2 separate regions of the Homo sapiens genome follow, and region 1 is linked to region 2. The links are contacts of gene promoters, found by promoter capture Hi-C in human tissues and cell types (Jung and others, 2019). All regions are on one chromosome and are shown on one strand. The core of a region is centred on a gene start or on the middle of the fragment in contact, and the rest is flanking DNA. Distances in the headings are between cores, read along the strand shown. Region 1 overlaps UNC5B (unc-5 netrin receptor B). Region 2 holds the start of SAR1A (secretion associated Ras related GTPase 1A).

Region 1 (3,077 bases), core at 212-2,711, 1.1 Mb after region 2:
AGACTCAAAGCCAGGGCATCAGCTTGGTGCCATCATTGTCAGCACCTGGTATCTAGGACAGAGAATGTGCTGCGAGATGCTTGCTGACTGACCAAGATACACTTTGGTGTCAAAACTCCTTTGGAGAACCTCAAATGCTGGATAAGTGCTGGATAAATATAAGGCCAATGATAATAAATATTATACTTATTGAAAGATGTGTAATAAACCTGCATTGAGTCTCAAAAAATAAATAAATAAAATATGCTTTAGATAAGACATTTTACTAGAAATGAATAGGACTTACAAAGATGGCTAAGGCTTTATTCCTCCTATCAGGGGAGTTCATGGGAGCAGGAGGGAACACGGGTGGGAGGAATGACCACATGCTAGACGTGGTCATTCTCTCTTGGGGCCAGTGTCTTTCAATGATAATAATGATGATGATGAACAAGATGGTTACATGCTAGAGACAACGCTAGACCCTTACTTTATATGATCTTGGATCTTGCTGAGCGGTAACTGGCATTGTTCCCATTTTAGAGACAAGGAGACTGAGATTCTGAGCCATAGGTTCTGAATTGCCGAGAGCCACACAGACTGCAGCACAGTAGCTGCAATTCAGACCCAGGACAGTGGGACACCAAAGCTCACAGCCTTCCCACTTCCCCTTGTGCCCCTTCACCTCCAGGCTCCGGGGAGGGGCTAAGTGCTTGGGAACCTCAGTGCCCTCCTTCCCTCTGCCAGGTACCTGAATTACTTTGCCACCAAAGCGAGCCCCACGGGTGTGATCCTGGACCTCTGGGAAGCTCTGCAGCAGGACGATGGGGACCTCAACAGCCTGGCGAGTGCCTTGGAGGAGATGGGCAAGAGTGAGATGCTGGTGGCTGTGGCCACCGACGGGGACTGCTGAGCCTCCTGGGACAGCGGGCTGGCAGGGACTGGCAGGAGGCAGGTGCAGGGAGGCCTGGGGCAGCCTCCTGATGGGGATGTTTGGCCTCTGCTTCCTCCCAGTTCACAGCCAGAGTTGCCTCTCCTCCTCCTCTTCCCCAACCCCCAGACCATGACCAGCCTTAGAAAATCCATGTACTCTGTTGTTAGAGGGCCCAGAGTTCCTTCTCCACCCCCGCTCTCTCTCTCTTGGCCTGAGATCTCTGTGCAGGAACCAAGATGGGGCTGAAGCCTCTGGAGGCAGTTGGTTGGGGGCGGGCAGGCAGGAGGCCCTCCCTCCACCCCCCCACCCTCAGCCCGGCAACTTCTGGGTTCCATGGGTTTTAGTTCCGTTCTCGTTTTCTTCCTCCGTTATTGATTTCTCCTTTCTCCCTAAGCCCCCTTCTGCTTCCACGCCCTTTTCCTCTTTGAAGAGTCAAGTACAATTCAGACAAACTGCTTTCTCCTGTCCAAAAGCAAAAAGGCAAAGGAAAGAAAGAAAGCTTCAGACCGCTAGTAAGGCTCAAAGAAGAAGAAAAACACCAAAACCACAAGGGAAAAGAAAAACCCAGTTTCTTAGGAAACGCAAACGATTTATTATCCAGATTATTTGGATAAGTCCTTTTTAAGAAAAAAAAAGAAAATGAAAAACAACACAAAAAAAATAGAAAACTCTTTTCTTGAGTGTGGATGAGAATGGGCACGCTCACACTTCTGGCCAGGAGTGAATGTGCCTGTGTGTGTGTGTGTGTGTGTGTGTGTGTGTGTACATGTACGCGTGTGCATTGAGGAGAGAGAGACTGAACAGAGAGTACTTTGCTGCTAACGAATCCATCTTGGACTAAATTCTGACAAGGCCTCAGTTTCCCCAGTTGTGCAGGGAGTAGGTCAGACAGGGTTTTCACTGTCTAGATTTAGCTGGTTAGATTTTCCTCTAAAATCTTAAGCAGATGCTGAATCCATAAAGCCAAGGAGTGCTGAGGGCTGGAGTGGGTGGGCCCTCCCTCCCACAGCCCCAGGGAGATACATCTGGACTCCTGGGAATCTGGATTAAGAAAGTTGGGATGAAAGAGGAGGACTGCTCAGGCCAGTTGTGAGCCAGGGAGAATGTTCCAGTCTGGTTTTGGTCTGGTGGCTCCTAGAAAGGGATGTGGCCCAGAAGTGGGACTCAAACAGAGAGATGAAGTAGGGGAGGGGAGTCCTCCACGGGCATCTCTCTCCTGGCGGCTGGATAGCTTTACCCTAGGGTGGGGCCAGCCCTGACACCCTCATCCCCTCCTCAGCCCAGCAGCCTCTAGAGCAGCGTGGTGCTCTCTTGATGGCCAGGAATCCAGAATCTGCCCTTCCCCAACCTTGGTTTCTCCTTCTGTAAAGCAGAGTGATGGCTGAGAAGTCCTCTCTAGCTGCAGAAGCCTGAGCTTCCCGGTGTCAGTCAGCTCTGCAACGTGGGAGCCTTGGAGGCGGGTGGCCTGGCTGTGCTTCATATGCCCAGGAGTGGAGAAGGAGGCTGAGAAGCTGGTTTCCCAGCTCTGATCTCCACAGGCACCTCCTATAACCCTCCTCTCACCCACCCCGCTACGGTCTGAGAGATCTGAAATAACCTTTCCCAGTGGGCAGGGTTGCCAGGGTTGAGGGGACAGCACATACCACCCCCACCCAACCTGTTCGAGGGGCCCTGCATGGCACGGGATGAGTCCCTGCCCTGTGCAGCTGCCTGGCAGTGGCTGGGACAAGGATCTTGCAGCCAGCACAGAGGCCTCTTCAAAGGCCTCTCCCTCTTGGCACTCCAGGCAAGGCAGGTGCCCGCTTCCCCAACACCTCCAGGCAGTGACCCTAGGGCATGCCCCAGCAGGTCTCCGAGCAGCCACTGGGACCCGTCTCAGCACATCCTGGCCTTTGAAAGTCTGATATCCTGAGAGGAGGGCAGGTTTTAGGGCCGCAGTTCCAGCCAGCGTCCCCAGCCTGGCTTCCCTGCCATGGACTCAGTAGCTCGTGGGGCTTCTTACCACCCACCAGCCCCGCTGGGGTGCGGCCTGGCTGTGGGCAAAGGAGGACTTGCCTGGAGATTTGAGAGAAGATTCCTTCTACCAGGGCTGCTGAGGGGCCAGGCCTGCATCAGGGGCTAGGCTCTGGCTGGGCCCGGAGGCTGAGACTAAGGCTTTCGACCC
Region 2 (3,020 bases), core at 64-2,563:
ACCAAAGCCTAAGCTCTTCCTGTTAACAGTACATAAAATTCAAACCCAAACCACAAAATTGCTGGGGAAAAAAAAAAAAACTAAAACTTCTTTAACCCACCAACTACACAGAGGATGATCTTCCGAAGTTCTCTTCCTTACAACTCATCACATCTTTTGAATGGTATTTTAATAACTAGCATTCTATTTATTTTCTATTCTTGGTCCATTGTACCACCTTACGAGAAGTTAAGAGTAATCTAAAATTTAAGGTAGGTCTCTAAACTATCAACAAAACACTATTAATGTACCTAAAATGAAAACTTGCGAATTCCAGGGCTAAATGATTCAAACAAATGTTAATAGAAAAGGAGGGCACCAATCTGACCATTAGCCAATTTAAAAATTTACGCATTACTTGTTATACATAATCAGGGCAACTTTAAGACGCCATTCCAGGCAGATTTGGGGTAGTAGGCGGCTGGCTTTTAGCTAACTCTGCTTAGCTGCGGGGTAAATGTCAAAGGTCAGCCCCATGGCGAATCTCCCTAAGCCCCCTGTCGCAACCGAAGCCGATGGAATCAACAAGACAAAGATGCTCCTGACCCACTGGCTAGAATCGTGAAGAAAACGCTAATCCATGTCAAATGCACATAAGGAAATTTTTCCATGCAGAGACCAGACAGGGGAAAAGGGGAAGGGAGAAGGAGAAAATACAGGGTTCGACCCGGGCCATCGGAAGACAACCAAGCGCTGACTTGGGGGTAAGCCCTGGACTAGGGGCCTGTAGACCAGGTTCGAGCGCTCACACTCGCTAACTGCGGAGCCTTGGCCAGCCTCAGTCTCCGAGTCTACAAAACAAGGATAATCATAAAGGGCTCCCACCCGCCTCACCGAGGGCTGTGAGGCTCTTCCGAGACAGAGGACATGGAGCCATTTCGTAAACCGGAGCGCACGGTACAGACAAGAAACTGTTATCCGGCCCAGCAGCTGCGAGACCCCCGAGCGGAATGCAAGTGGACCCCAGGCAAAGAGGACAGCAGGGGACGGAGCAGATCTGGCCAAGTTGTCCCGTCCCCGCCCAGAATCAGCCCCGCGGCCCCACAGAACCGCCTGCGTGTCACTTCCCCCCCACCCAACCCCGCCAGGGCCAGCCTCCGCTCCGACCTCCCCGCCTTCCGTCCCAGCCCCTCGAGCCCCAACTCCCCTCCCCGACGCGACCCTCAGACTCACGGCCTGAGGGGCTCCTCCGGCAAAACAGCGGCTGGCTCGGACCCTCCCTCAGAGCACACTAACCAGCAGCACCCGGGACCGCCAGCTACTCGCCGGATGTACGTCACACCCCTCCCCGGGACTTCCGGGCGCGTAATGGGCCCCGCCCCCTCACAGCGTTACGCCTCTCTGCCCCGGTGCCGTCCCACCAGCGACTCGGGCCGCGGAGGGGCGGGCATAAGGCGTGACAAAGCGCGCTCGGGGTCTGGCCCCGCCTCGGCCCCGCCTGCTCCCGTCTGGCTAGCTGACCGCGCGAGACGTGGCAGCGCCGGAACCCTGGGTCCGGGGCTGGGTCCTGGAGTCCCTGAGCGGCCTGGTACACTCGGGATCGCGGCTTCCCATTCCAGACGCACCAGGAAAGTCAGAAGTGGGTACCGACGGTGACATAGGTCCTGGGAAAGATGAGTTGACCTTGGGGCCCTCCACTTGAGGTGGATCCCTCCAAGCTTTTGCTTTTTTTCTTCCTTGCTTTTTTTTTTTTTTTTTTTTTTTTTGAGGCGGAGTCTCACTTTGTCGCCCAGGCTGGAGTGCAGTGGCGCGATCTCGGCTCACTGCAACCTCCACCTCCCGGATTCAAGCGATTCTCATACCTCGGCCTCCCGAGTAGCTGGAACTACAGGCGCATGTCACCACACCTGGCTAATTTTTTTGTATTTTTACAGAGACAGGTTTCACCGTGTTGGCCAGGCTGGTCTCGAACTTCTGACCTCAAGTGATCCGCTGGCCTCGGCCTTCCAAAATGCTGGGATGAGAGGCGTGAGCCACCGCGCCCAGCTGCTTTTGCTTTGAGTCGCACTTCCTTGCCCTGGGGTGGCCTATGTTTTAGAAAAACAGAAAAACAGCTAATATTTATTGTGCACTTATGTTCCAGGCAGAGCACTGGGTACTTTGCACGCTTTGTCTAATTTCACCGTCATTGGAGTCCTGTGACTCCAGATGCTAGTATTATCCTTATTGACAAATGAGAGAGCAATGTTCAGAATAACCTACCATGCCCAAGTTCACACAGCTAAGTGGCAAAGCAACGTGTTCACCCCAGTATATTTCGCATGCATTTTCTCATTTAATTCTCAGGACAGTCCCACGAGATTGGTACTATTATTACTCTCATTTTACAAATAAAACAGTCTAATGGAAAGATGAATGACGTCTGTGGGTTCATGAAGATCTCAATTCTCCTTTAGTAAAATTTAAATTTAACATAATCCCAATAAAAGTACTAATAGGATTAATAGGTCGTGTGTGGTTTCGTTCTTTTTTTTTAATTACCCTATTTGTTCCTAAAATTCGTATAGAAAACCAAACAAAACTAGTCCAGAAACAGGCTTTCAAAATGAAGAACAAGGAGGTGGGAACTAACCCTGTTGGATATTAAAACATATTATAGAGCCTAAGTTATTAAAACTGGTGTGCGTGCACATGCACAAACACACACACACAAAAAACACAATGGAACAGAGCAAAGTACAGAAATGACTAAAGTACATGCAGAAATAAAACTAAAGTAGCACCTGGGACTCCAGCAATACTCAGGGAGCTGAGTGGGCAAGCTCACCACCCTCTACCCTCCGCTCATCCTGGGGTCTTAGATGTTGAATTTGAACCCTGTCCTGTCACAGAAAGGTGTCAGGCCACTTCTGAGGCTTCTCACCAGCTTTAGCTAAACCAGGGACAATGTGTCCATGGGGCTTGGAACCCCTTGTGCATCCTGGAGACACAGATGCAAGCCCAGTGCAAGCCAACACATTGGATTACTGGCTTTGTTGAGA

The links. Contacts are between HindIII fragments. The study calls those that stand out against the background at their distance.
Region 1: a fragment that was not itself captured here is called in contact with the fragment with the promoter of SAR1A in region 2 in 1 of the 25 tissues and cell types used here (hippocampus).

Annotation. Positions count from the first base shown.
Region 1 is chr10:71,298,386-71,301,462 of GRCh38, forward strand. It overlaps UNC5B (unc-5 netrin receptor B), which reads left to right. Exons shown (of 17, transcript NM_170744.5): 17 at 727-3,077. The coding sequence ends at 892. Among named protein-coding and RNA genes, the nearest start is that of SLC29A3, 19 kb to the right of the region's middle. The HindIII fragment of the contact is 7,838 bases long and covers 1-3,077 here.
Region 2 is chr10:70,169,201-70,172,220 of GRCh38, forward strand. It overlaps SAR1A (secretion associated Ras related GTPase 1A), which reads right to left and starts at 1,314. Exons shown (of 7, transcript NM_020150.5): 1 at 1,213-1,314. RefSeq lists enhancers at 280-938, 939-1,595, 1,729-1,808 and a silencer at 1,239-1,598. The HindIII fragment of the contact is 10,715 bases long and covers 1-3,020 here.